2 separate regions of the Homo sapiens genome follow, and region 1 is linked to region 2. Evidence: promoter capture Hi-C in 16 types of primary human blood cells and fetal thymus (Javierre and others, 2016). All regions are on one chromosome and are shown on one strand. Each heading gives the region's core, a stretch centred on a gene start or on the middle of the fragment in contact. The rest is flanking DNA. Distances are from core to core; before and after follow the strand shown.

What was found. Contacts are between HindIII fragments. The CHiCAGO score rates a contact against its expected background, and 5 or more counts as called.
Region 1: a contact is called between a fragment that was not itself captured here and the fragment with the promoter of TTLL1 in region 2, in 1 of 17 cell types (M2 macrophages). The highest score is 5.1, in M2 macrophages.

What each region holds. Positions count from the first base shown.
Region 1 is chr22:42,893,157-42,900,101 of GRCh38, forward strand. PACSIN2 (protein kinase C and casein kinase substrate in neurons 2) reads right to left here. Exons shown (of 11, transcript NM_001184970.3): 3 at 301-457. Among named protein-coding and RNA genes, the nearest start is that of ARFGAP3, 39 kb to the left of the region's middle. RefSeq lists enhancers at 4,406-5,182, 5,183-5,957. The HindIII fragment of the contact is 2,032 bases long and covers 1,433-3,464 here.
Region 2 is chr22:43,085,846-43,092,569 of GRCh38, forward strand. TTLL1 (TTL family tubulin polyglutamylase complex subunit L1) reads right to left here and starts at 3,546. Exons shown (of 11, transcript NM_012263.5): 1 at 3,432-3,546. It also overlaps the pseudogene RPS25P10. RefSeq lists silencers at 3,314-3,653, 3,418-3,712, 4,461-4,520 and an enhancer at 3,418-3,712. The HindIII fragment of the contact is 9,359 bases long and covers 1-6,724 here.

The DNA.
Region 1 (6,945 bases), core at 1,199-3,698, 190 kb before region 2:
ATAGGAACTTACCCGAGTTCTGAGTTAACTCGGCAAGTGCAAGTGTGTCCTATGGATGACAAGGGCTATAGTCCTGTGTCCCCAAGGAAAGTGGACAAAAGCTCATGGAGCCTGTGCCTTCTGGTGATGGGCGCTAATGCTCCCCATAAAAATCACACCCCGCTCTGGAACTGGGAAATGCACTCTTGCCCCAATCTTAAAAGACAGAAAACTGGCATAGAGAGGGTCACAACGTGCCCAGAGCCCCCGGCTGGGGTGTAGCTGCCTCCAGGCCACAGGACCTGTGCCGGGGCCCCATACCTTTCTCCACGAGCTGCCTCCAGCGCCGGGCCCACTCAGTGAGCTGCTGCGCATACGCCTTCTCGATGCGCGCCCGCTCATGCAGGCAGTTCATGAGGTCGCTGCACAGGCGGTGGCCATCGTCGATCCGCTTCACAGTCCGCTTGTAGTTCCCGACCTAGGAGAGAGAACCAGCTGGGAGGCAGGGGGCTTGGGGCAGCCTGTCCTTGGCTGTGGCACAAATGGCCTCCATGCCAACCAGGCCCTGATGCGCCCCTGGGGTCATGTTTACCACACCCCTCTCCAAGAGTTTGAAAGGCACTCCGTGTAGTTAGATAATGAGCCTCTCTATTTTTATTATTAATAAGATCATACACATCAGTGAACGGGGGCTTCTCAATGTTCTTTAGGTTGGGTACCAAGTAGAAACTGGGCTGTGGGTCAGGAAGGGAGGCTGACTGGCTCAGGAAGGGGTGGGGCTGAGGATGCCTAAACGGGCACCTCACGCAGACTGAGGGGCTGGGGCTGGCTTCCTGGAGTAGGTGACATCTAACCAAAGCCTTCTGCTTTGATGTCATCCATCATGTGCTGGGTTATTACTTCCCAATCATAGCTGTAAAAACTTTTCCACTTCCTGAGCACCTACCATGTGCCAGGCGACCTGCTAGGTGTTTTACACCTCCAAATACTGTCTCCCCTACCTAGTAGGAATAAGTGTCCCCATTTTACAGATGAGGAAACAAAGGCTTAGAGAAGTTACGTGGTTTGTCAAGATCCTGCAGCCACAGTGGCTAGGCTGGAGCTGAAGGCAATTGTTTTTTTTTTTGAGACACAGTCTCGCTGTCGTCAGGCTGGAGTGCAGTGGCACGATCTCGGCTCACTGCAACCTCCGCATCCCAGGTTCAAGTGATTCTTCTGCCTCAGCCTCCTCAGTAGCTGGGACTACAGGCACGCATGCCATCACACCCAGCTAGTTTTTGTATTTTTAGTGGAGACAGGGTTTCACCATGTTGGCCAGGATGGTCTCAATCTCCTGACCTTGTGATCCACCCACATCAGCCTCCCAAAGTGCTGGGATTACAGGCGTGAGGCACCGCGCCCAGCCCAAAGGCAGTTTTTCAAAGGGTTCCAAGTAGGACTGTCTTGATGGCAAAGCTTTGTCAGGGCTAAGCTGAGTTTTGACTGCCTTTTTTCGTATATGAAAAGAAAAACTAGTTCATCAAAGTTATAAGTAATAAAAGAGTAACTGAGGAAATGTTAATGGCTAATTTGGGGTGAAAACGAAAATGTTCGATATGTTTCATTCTTTTAGCTGCTGGCTTGAAAGGCTACAGTCGCTGATAACTTGAGCACCCAGAGGAAATATGACAGAAAAACGATCTCTTTTCAGCCTTTTTCTCCCAATGCCTTCAAAAATCTTAGTCAACCCCTTGTCAGTTTTACCTTTTCTAAAATCTCTTTGCCTGGCCCTGCACAGAGATGGGCAAGGGGAGGGAAGGGGGCTGCAGCACCTGGAGGAAGGGCTGTCCCTGAGGCTGAGCTACATGGGCTGAGATGACTCCACTCCTGTGAGAACCAGAATCCTGGTGAAAAGCAAAGACCCCTGGAAGGTGGTTAGCCTGGGCAGCCTTCTCCAGAGGCAGATGAGACTTCCGGCTCTACTCATTCCCTCCAAAGACCTCCCCCAGCAAGGCTGGCAGCTCGGCAGCTCGTCAAAACATGAGCTGAACCTGAGCATCCACTCCAAACTAGAGCAGCTCCTGTGAGGAAGTCGGAAGTGAGCATTTTCACAGCTCACTGGAAGTGACATTATGTGGTTGCTTCCCTTAAAATGAGGCCTTACTGTCATTTTGAAATTTACAGCAGGATGAAAAAAATACCCAACAAGCAACTCAGTATCGTTGAGCTGGTGGTAGGAGGAGCTGAGGTAACACGGCCCTAACTTAGCCTTGACAGTCGACATGAAGCCACAACCCAGAGCTGGTTTTCATCTGCCTATTACCAACAGTATTCAAATTGGTAATCACCATCAAATCATGTATTTTGGCTCTCTTGAAACCTGCTTATCTCTGTGATTTTCAGAACCACTGGTTAAAGGTTTAGGGAAAAGAAAAGGATATTTCTTAACAAGTCACATGTTGGTACCACCCATCGGCACACACAGGAGCTGCAAATACACATTTACATGACAACTCTTGAAATGTGGAAATCCGTGATGAATACAGGAAGAGTGTTTCCGTAAGTACACATTTCAGGTTTCCAAATAAGCTCCCAGTTGGTCCTAGAGGCTGCAGAGGAGCCTGTGCTGGTCCTGTGACCACTGCTGGGGACAAGAGGCAAGTTGGCTGAGCACAGAGCCAACGGGAGAAGGGCAGTATGCCAAACAGTTGGGACCGAGGCACCCCAGCAACATCGGCCCTGCTGTCCCTTTAATGAAACGGTTGTGTGGTGGCCGGTGAAGGCCATCACTGGAAGTCTCTATCGCCATAAACCACCAGGGACAGAGCAATGTGGCCTTTCCACTTCCCTGGGCAAAGCACTGCAGTCGTCCCAGGAGCAGAGCTACTGCTGGCTGCTTCTCTAGGTCGAGATGGAATCTACACACAGGCAAAACTGCCCACTACAGGGTACACTTAGATCTGAATGTGGACAAACATATACCACTGTCTACCACCTCCACAGCAAGGAACAGGACACTTCCATCTCTCATGAAGTGCCTTTGTGCCCCCTTGCAGCCCATCCCCTCCCCATACAGCCCCCAGCAACCACAGACATGATTTTTGCCCCTTTTCCAGGATGGCAAGGATATATGGAATACACAGTATGCAGCCTGGCTTTTGAGACTGGCTTCTGTCACCCACCATAATGTTTCTGAGACTGATCCATGTTGCTATCTACGTCAGAAGGTCACTCTTTCTTACTGCTAAGTAGTATTCGATTGTGTAGTTATGCCACTATCAGAAGTTCACTCTTTCTTACTGCTAAGTAGTATTCGACTGTGTAGGTATACCACTATCAGAAGTTCACTCTTTCTTACTGCTAAGTAGTATTCGATTGGGTAGTTATACCACTCTTTGGTTTATCCATATTCTTCCTGCTGAAGGTTGCTTGGGTCATTTTCAGTTTGGGGGAATTATGAATAAAGAAGCTATAACGTTCATCTATTGGTCTTTTGTGGGGACATAAGCTTCCATGACTCTTCGGTGAATACCTAGGAATGGAAATGTTAACTGTACGTTTAACAAAACTGCCGAACTGCTACCCAAAGTGACTGGACAGCTGTGCACTGCCATCAGCAACGTATGAGACTTCCCTGTCCTGCATGCTCCCAGCACTTAGTATTGCCAGGGTGTTTTGTTCTGTTTTGTTATTTTTAGCCATTCTACTTAGTGTAGCAATATTGCATTGTGATTTTAATTTGCATCTTTCTAAAGTCTAATAATACTGAAAATCTTTTCTTATGACTATTTGCCATCTGTATGCCTTCTTGAGTAAAGTTTGTTCCTTTTTTTTCTTTTTGAGACAGGGTCTTGCTTTGTTGCCCAGGCTAGAGTGCAGTGCCACAATCATGGCTCACTGTGGCCTTAACCTCCCAGGCTCAAGTGATCCTCCCACCTCAGCCTCCAGAGTAGCTGGAACTACAGGTACGCACCACCACACCTGGCTAATTTTTGTATTTTTTGCAGAGACAGGGTTTTGCCGTGTTGCCTAGGCTGGTCTTGAATTCCTGGGCTCAAGCGATCCTCCCACCTTGGCCTCCCAAAGTGTTGGGATTACATGTATAAGCCACAGCGCCTGGCCTGTTCCCTTTTTAATATATTTTTTAAAAAATCAAACGTATAATAATGACTAGTTTTTACAATGCAAGAAAATTAATTTTCAAATATTTGACAAATCGATCATACATTAAAATCAGCACATATATAGTTAACTATTTCTGCTCTATCAGTTTTGTAATTAAAAACCTCTCTTCTACTTCTTCAAAACATTAGGTTGTTTTGGGATAGCCAAATGGCAGAAAACTTTAGGTAGAAACTGAATATAAGCATGCTTTCTTCCAAACATATTAATTGCTTCATTCACAAAATCCTCATTTTTGAACCAGGTATGAAGCTATGTTCCTAACTTCCTCTAAATTCAGGCTCACTCCACTCAGAAACTAAGCTACCAAAGACAAATGCTCAGCATACATGTGCCTGGACATCCCTTCACTCCCCTGAGGGACTGCCTGGCAGACGGAGGGCCAAGCATGTACCTACTGAGGGACTCAGTGCTTGGGCACAGGGCACTGGAACTGGGGCACTAGGAGGAGGGGGTGAGAGGTATCCTGAACGCAATATCCAAAGGGCATCTTCAAGGACAGGTAGGAGGCTGGCCAGATTAAAGGTGAGGCCAGGAAAATAATTCCAGGCACAGGGAACAGCACTGGCAAAAGGAAGGTGTGTCCACATGGCAACCCTGGGGCCCTGAGAGAAGTCAGCTGGGAATGGAACACAGAACACAGGGAGCAAATGGCAATGAGGGAGGGCAGATGCTGAGAAACTGGGAAGGCTAGGCCTGCATCCTGAAGGGTGTCAGGCTTGGGGACTGGTGGGGCTCAGAAGGCTGGCGGGGGTGGGGACATCCTGGAAGGAAGAATTGAGAGCAGCCTCCAGAGAATGGGGCTGCTCAGTGGAACCCAGGGCATGCGAGCCAAAAAAGGGAGCTGCCCATCCTCCAGGTGGAGGATGCGGGGACAAAGGTCGTGGGAATCCCTGGCTCCCAGACAGGTTTCTCTGCATACAGCACCCCTGCCTTCTCCAGGCTGTGCCCACCTTGGGAAAGAGAACCTCCTTCCTTTTCTTTTTTTTTTTTTGAGACAGTTTCGCTCTTGTTGTCCAGGCTGGAGTGCAATGGTGCGATCTCGGCTCACCACAACCTCTGCCTCCTTGGTTCAAGCGATTCTCTTGCCTCAGCCTCACGAGTAGCTGGGATTACAGACATGCGCCACCACGCCCAGCTAATTTTGTATTTTTAGTAGAGACGGGTTTTCTGCATGTTGGTCAGGCTGGTCTCAAACTCCCGAACTCAGGTGATCTGCCCACCTCAGCCTCCCAAAGTGCTGGGATTACAGGCGTGAGCCACTGTGCCCGGCTGAGAACCTCCTTTCTAGGGTCCTCCGGAGGCCGCTCTCCTGCCTCCCAGGGATGGACCTTGGGGGCCACATCCCTCACAATCAAGCTCTGCCTCCAGGGAATCCACTCCCTTCCCCATGCCCTTCCCCGAGCCCAGGACTCGCCCTGCCGCCTGCCCTCCTCCAGGCTGCACTCACTCCCTCTCAGTGAGCCAGGCTTCTAATCGTTCCTCTGAGAACCCAATGTCAGCCAAGCCTCAGTTTTAAAGTCAGCTAGGATGAGGTGGCAGCTGGAATCTCAACCATCCCTGTGCAGAAACATCCGTGCAATCAGGAGCAGAGAAAGGGGCTCTACCTGAAACCCAGCAGCTTATTGTCACAGGCGTGCTGGGGGGACTATCCAAAGAGGCCACGTCAGCTCCTCCTCCATCCTGCATGCATCTGTTGTAAACAGTCCAGAGGTGCCTTTCACAAGGACGCTGGAGAAGGTCTGCTGTGCAGACACAGGACCATGCCAAGCTCTGTGGTGCTCCCAACCCCTAATACCTTCAGACTCTGGGCCCTAAGAGGGTGTGGACCTGTGTCTTCCTAATCCACCACTCTTTCTCCATTGCTTTCCACAGGGTCTACCGCACAGCAGGCACCCCATACAAATGTGAGGTAAAACCATAACATGACCAGAAGAAAATGAACGCGAATACCTTTGTGACTTACGGCATGGCTCCTTAAACAAAATTTTTCTTTTTCTTTTTTTTTGAGACGGAGTCTAGCTCTGTTGCCCAAGCTGAAGCGCAGTGGTGCCATCTCGGCTCACTTGCAACCTCTGCCTCCCGGGTTTAAGCGATTTTCCTGCCTCGGCCTCCCGAGTAGCTGGGATGACAGCAGGCAGAGCACACAGAGACACCTCTGTATGTGGGTGCCCAGAGGGATGTGCCTGAGAACAGCAAGGCAGCTCTACGCCTGTGGACTGGCAACCACCAGAGAGTGGGAAAGGCCAAGTGTGGGCAGAGGTGGGTGTACAGCACCCTTTACTGGATATACTGGTGGAAACAGACTGGGCAGGCCTCTGTGCACAACTAGGCAGTCATTAAATCATAAAGCATGCAAGTGCCCTACGATGACCCAGCAGCTTCATTCTGGGCTTAGATTCCCATAGAAGTGTTCCCTTTGGTCCCAGGACAGGTAGGGGGCCTCTCCCTGGGGAATGCACAGGTAAGCACGGGGCCCAGCAGTGCAGCGGGAGGAAGGATGTGCGCGACTACGCCGACACACTGACCCAGAACAGAAACAGAATGATGTGGGGCATGATGCCATTTACATCAATTAAGAATACGTGCACATGAAGTAGGGGTGCGAAGTTTATGAGAGCAGATGCTAACAAAAGCTGTAACATTAGAAATGGGGAGGGGGCCTAGGTATCAACTGCAGGTGGAGAAATAGAGACAGGAACGGTTATTGATGAGCGAGTCCCCCTCCTACCTGCCCCCATCTCAGCTCTCTGTGAAGTCTTGGCTCCTTTTCCCCACGCAGGCTTCCCTGATGCAGCCCGTCCT
Region 2 (6,724 bases), core at 2,296-4,795:
CCCACATTAGATAGCAACCTCCTGCGGGGCAGCAGAGTGGGCTGGCTCAGGAGCGGGCTGGCTCAGGAGTGGGCTGACTCGTGTCTGTTCTCATGTCGGGCACGCAGCCAGCCAGGCCTAGCGTGGGGCTCCAAAATCGTGTGTAGACAAGTGATCCACCGGGCCACGCCCCACAGTGTGGAAGAATGGGTGATTCCTTCCCAACCCTAAGCAATACTAAGCCGTTTTCCTTAGAAAAGTAAATAAATACCTGATATCAGATTGTTTTATTGTTGCTTCCTCCTAAAACAGAAAACGGAAGTGGGGTTAAGGGTACTGAGTAACGTGTTATTATCTCTCCTGGTTCACGTGAATTGATGCATCTGAATCTTACGTCACTTTCTAAACTGAGCATCATAAAAACCTAACCAGGAAAAACAGAGTGACATATTGACCTTTTATGTTGAATGCAGCTCACAATTGGAGTTGGGGCTGTCACCACCTGAAGTGTGTCAACCACAGAAAGCCATCCTGAAACCAGAGAGCTGCTGGTTATTTTCAGAAGACAACCTGGGTCTCGCTCCTGGGGCAACTGGGTAGGATCGTCATGAGCTCAAAGAGAAGGTTTCCCATGAACACCCTGGATATCAGGGCCACTGGTGGTCTAACTTCTCATCCACCCACACAGCCCTGACAGCCACTCAGTGCCAGGCCTGTAACAGACAGACATTAAACTGAGAGCCCAGATGGGGGCGAGGAGCACAGGAGACACATTTAACAAGCTGTAAGGCCTGCCTGCAGCAAAGGGCTTCAACAACACATCACAGTTCAACTGTGGCCGGGGAAGGAAGGGATGGTTAATTTGATCCAGCAGCAAATCAGGTCAGCTCCACTCCAGAAGATTCCAAATCCATCCTCCACTCCCATAATGTCCCCTCTCTCCTGGGCAACTGCAGCAGGCCCCACTCTGTCCCCTGCTACTCTTCTCACTCCACTACAACCCATTTCCCACCCAGCAGCGGACCAATGTGTGACACACACAACACTAACCATGTCACCCTGCTCACTACCCCACAGTAGCTTCATACTGCATTCAGAATGAAGCTAGTGGTCCTCCATGGCCTACGAGGCCAGCCCTGCAGATCTGGACCATCACCTCTTAGGCCTTGTCTCTCACCAACCCTCTTTAGCCCCTGGCCTTCTTTCAGCTCCTGACACCCCACAGGCTGCATTTTGTCTTAAGCCTTTGCTCGTCCTCCAGATCTGTCCCTTCTCAAAAGTCAACTGCTCAGAGTGGCTTTCCCCAACCACTCAATCTCAATCCTCCTGACTCCACCACATTGTCACTTTATTTTCTCCATGGCACTTGGGTTGTAAGCAATCATTTAGTCCAGTGCTACTCAAAGCATGGCCCACATGTGAGCAGCACCTGGAGCTTGTTAGAAATACAGATTCTTTGGGAGGCCAAGACAGGTGGATCACCTGAGGTCGGGAGTTCGAGACCAGCCTGGCTAACATGGTGAAACCCCGTCTCTACTAAAAATACAAAATTAGCTGCGCGTGGTGGTGCACATCTGTAATCCCAGCTACTCAGAAGGCTGATGCACGAGAATCACTTGAACCTGGGAGGTGGAGGTTGCAGTGAGCTGGCATCACGCCACTGCACTCCAGCCCGGGCAACAGAGTGAGACTCCATCTCAAAAAAAAAAAAAAAAAGAAATACAGATTCTTAGCAGGGCACGGTGGCTCACGCCTGTAATCCCAACACTTTGGGAGGCCAAGGTGGGTAGATCACCTGAGGTCAGGAATTCAAAACCAGCCTGGCCAACATGGTGAAACCCTATCTCTACTAAAAATACAAATATCAGCCGGGCGTGGTGGTGGGCGCCTGTAATCCAAGCTATCTGGGAGGCTGAGGTGGGAGGATTGCTTGAACCCGGGAGGCAGAGGTTGCAGTGAGCCAAGATCGCACCACTGCACACTCCAGCCTGGGTGACAGAGTGAGACGGTCTCAAAAAAAAAAAAAAAAAACCAAGAATATGGCCAGGCACAGTGGCTCACGCTTGTAATCCCAGCACTTTGGGAGGCCGAGGTGGGCGGATCACCTGAGGTCAGGAGCTCGAGACCAGCCTGGCCAACATGGCGAAACCCCATCTCTACTAAAATTTAAAAAATTAGCGGGGCATGGTGGCGCGTGCCTGTAATCACAGCTACATGGGAGGCTGAGGCAGGAGAATCGCTTGAACCCAGGAGGCAGAGGTTGCAGTGAGCCGAGAGCGACCGCACTCCAGCCTGGGCAACAAAGCAAGACTCCGTCTAAAAATAAATAAATAAATAAATAAAGTAATAACAATGTCAGTGATGACTTCATGTTGAGCAGGGCATTCGTTCACAGCGGTATTGTCACTGTCCATCTCCACGCCCGCACTGGGTGACAGTACCATGCTCCACAGTGACTGCTTACCAGTGTCTGTAATTTGAGGGCAGAGAAGGGCCCATCTTTTTTTTTTTTTTTTTTTTTTTTTTTTTTGAGACAGAATCTCGCTCTGTCGCCCAGGCTGGAGTGCAGTGGCGCAATCTCGGCTCACTGCAAGCTCCGCCTCCCGGGTTCACGCCATTCTCCTGCCTCAGCCTCCCGAGTAGCTGGGACTACAGGCCCCCGCCACCATGCCCGGCTAATTTTTTTTTTTTTGTATTTTTAGTATAGACGGGGTTTCACCGTGTTAGCCAGGATGGTCTCGATCTCCTGACCTCGTGATCCTCCCGCCTCGGCCTCCCAAAGTGCTGGGATTACAGGCGTGAGCCACCGTGCCCGGCCGGGGCCCATCTTTTTGTACCGCCACAACCCGGCACCATAATGTGCTCATCAAACGTTTCCTGAGCAAAGAACCTGCTTTGCAAATGCCAAAAGGGCTAACAATGATAAGATACTTTCACTTCCAGAATTAATCTCCTCTAATGCCCCAGCTACTCTATGGAAAAGGATGACTACCCCGCCCTGCCCTCTTAGCTGATAGGGAATCAGAGAGGGGAAATGTCTTGGTCCAGTCATCTAGAGGGAAGACACAAGGCTCTTGTCTCCTGCCCTGAGTTCTCTCCACAGGTACATTGCGCCCTGCAAAAGATGCCAACAGAAACAACACAGATTGCAAACGAATGGGAAACGTGTAGGAACAATGAAAGTCTGGGATAACAAATAATAAACATAATGATGCAATTGCAACAGTCGGACAGCACGAGGTAAGTCATAGGAACTCAGCGGACGGAGAAAGGCACGGTGGTTAGCGCGGGCTTCCTGGAGGACGCGGATCCGGCAAGCAGCATCTGAACCGCATTTTCGCAGCCGCGTAGACACTGGCGCCCACACTCTCTCACCCATGCGCACTCGCCAGCCCGCGCGCAGCCACACCCTCGGTGCCCGGGAGGCGGCGGCCTGGGGGACAGGACCTCACCTGTGGGCTCAGAGCGCCGAGGGACTCGGAGGAGCGCCCTGCAGGGATGCCTCGAGCCGCGCCCTCGCCCCGCCTCCAGCCCCTCTCCGGCGCTCGCAGGAGTACGCAGCCGACTGCCAGGCGCACCGGCCCGCCCCGCCCCGCGCTGCACTCTACTTCCAGGGCGGCGCCCTGGCAACCCAGGACGCGACCGCCGGCGCTGCGACTATTTCCGGAGTCAGACTTGCCTGGGGCTCCTTTGGGCTCCATACCTCGGGCGGCCGCTATGCCCAGGGCTTGGATCCTAGGAAATGCCAGGCCGTCCACCCTCTCGGGGCCCAGAAAGGAGATTGAGAAGGGTCTGGAGCACGGGATTAAGTCTAAAAAGAAAGGTAGAGCGGTGTGATGATTAGGTCCGAATCCTGGGTTCGGTCTCAATCCGCTGTTTAGCCTCTCCTACCCCTTCTACCTCGGCTTCCTTATCTGAAGAAATGGTGATGTTGCGCCACTGCACTCCAGCCTGGGCGATAGAGCGAGACTCCATCTCAAATAATAATAATAATAATAACATAAAAATAAAATAATTTTTTTTAAAAAGTGTTTATCTGGGCCAGACTCGGTGGCTCACGCCTGTAATCCCAGCACTTTGGGAGGCAGAGGCGGGTGGGTCGCGAGGTCAGGAGATCGAGACCATCCTGGCTAGGCTGAGGCAAGAGAATCGCTTGAACCCGGGAGACAGAGGTTGCAGTGAGCCAAGATCGTGCCACTGCACTCAAGCCTGGGCGACAGAACAAGACTCCGCCTCAAAAAAAAAAAAAAAAGACGTTTATTATTCTCGTTATAGACCTGTGTTACCTCGAATTCTCTATACAATTATTCATTTTTAATTTCATCAATTTAAAGAGTTATGCAAACTTGTGCAACTTGTAAGTGACAGAGTCTGGCTTTGAACCCAGGACACCTGACCATTCATGCTGCTGCCTCTCAGGAGGGGTGGTGGTGTGCTTTCTTAGTGATGATTGGAGCTTTGCTAACATCACTTCCTATAATCTCCCACACAACCGCCTCCCAGGCCCAGAGCACATTCAGCGCATCATCATTTACTTTTGGCACCATCTAGTGGAACCAACACTTATCTGGAGTCCAAATTGCCAATTCATACCCTTCAGCTGCTGTCTGGTTGTGAGGCCTTGAGAAGTCCCAAGGCTTCCGACTACAGTGTTCTCACCTTAAACCCAGGAGATGAGTGAAGGCTTGCAAGACGTGGTTAGGGCCTGGCATAGTAAAGTGTTCAATAAACATTGTAGCCTTCCAGCATGTTGCCTCATGCCTGCAATCCCTGTACTTTGGGAGGCCAAGATGGGAGGATCACTTGAGGTCAGGAGTTCCAGACCAGCCTGGCCAATATAGCAAGACCCCATTTCTAAAAAAAAAAGAAAAAATATTTTTAATCAGCCGGGTATGGGGGCGTAGCCAGCAGTCCTACTCAGTTACTCAGGAGGCTGAGGTGGATCACTTGAGCCTAGGAGATTGAGGCTGCAGTGAGCTATGATCCCGCCACTACACTACAGCCTGGCCAACAGAACAAGACTCTGTCTCTTAGAGAAAAAAAGTTAAAAAAAACAACAACAAAAAAAGAATTTTAAGGCAGGGCATGGTGCCTTACGCCTGTAATCCCAGCACTTTGGGAGGCCGAGGCGGGTGGATCACCTAAGGTCAGCAGTTTGAGACCAGCCTGGCCAACATGGTGAAACCCCGTCTTTACTAAAAATACAAAAATTTGCCGGGCATGGTGGTGCGCACTTGTAATCCCAGCTACTTGGGAGGCTGAGGCAGGAGAATTGTTTGAGCCTGGGAGACAGAGGTTACAGTGAGCCGAGATCGCACTATTGCACTCCAGCCTGGGCAACAGGGCGAGACTCCGTCTTAAAAAAAAAAAAAGAACTTTAAGATGGCGACAGCAGCATTAAACTAACTTCAGGGCTTGTCTGAGCACGGGGTCCTATGGTTCTGTACAGGTCACAGGCCCATGAGGCTGGCCTTACCCTAAGAAGCTGGCCACAGCTCCCCTCAATGAATCCCCACAAGAACTCTGCTGAGTTAATGGTGTTATCACCACTTTTTAAAAAATAGTGGTAAATTGGCCGGGCGCAGTGGCTCACGCCTGTAATCTTAGCACTTTGGGAGGCCGAGGTGGGCGGATCATGAGGTCAAGAGATCGAGACCATTCTGGCCAACATGATGGAAACCCGTCTCTACTAAAAATACAAAAATTAGCCGGGCATGATGGCACACGCCTGTAGTCCCAGCTACTCAGGGAGCTGAGGCGGGAGAATCGCTTGAACCTGGGAGGCAGAGGTTGCAGTGAGCTGAGATCACACCACTGCACTCCAGCCTAGCGACAGAGCGAGACTCTGTCTAAAAACAAAAAAAAGAAAAAGTGGTAAAATATGTATAACATAAAACTTAACCATCTTAGCCATTTTTAAATGTACAGTTCAGTGATGTTAAATATATTCACGTTGTGCAATCAGTCTCCAGAACTTTATCCTCTTGCTAAACTAAAACTCTTTACCCATTGAACACAATTCCCCATCCTTCCTTCCCCAGCCCCTGGTAACTGCCTTTCTACTTTCTGTCTTAATGAATTAGACTCCCTAAGTACCTCATCTAAGTGGAATCTGGGCCAGGCACAGTGGCTCATGCCTGTAATCCCAGCATTTTGGGAGCCTGAGGCAGGAGGATTGCCTGAGCCCAGGAGTTTGAGACCAGCCTGGGCAACATAGGGCGACCTCGTCTCTGCAAAAAAAAAAAAAAAGAAGAAGAAGAAGAAAGAAAGAGAAGGAAGGAAGGGAGGGAGGGAGGGAAGAAAGGGTTCGCTGCTGCTCTCTGAGCTTCGCCGTGCTATCAATGGATGACAAGAAGAACGAAGACACCGGAAAGTCGCTAAGAAAGACAAAGATTCAGTGAACAAATCTGGGGGCAGGGCCCAAAAGAAGAAGTGGTTCAAAGGCAAAGTCCGGGACAAGCTCAATAACTGAGTCGTGTTTGACAAACCTACCTATGACAAACTCTGTAAGGAACTTCCTAACCATAAACTTATAAGCCCTGCTGTGGTCTCTGAGAAACTGAAGATTCGAGGCTTCCTGGCCAGGGCAGCCCTTCAGGAGAACCTTAGTAAAGGACTTAACAAACTGGTTTCAAAGCACAGAGCTCAAGTAATTTACATCAGAAATACCAAGGGTGGAGATGTTATAGCTGCTGGTGATGATACATGAACAGGTCCAACCAACTGTACATTTGCAAAAATAAAA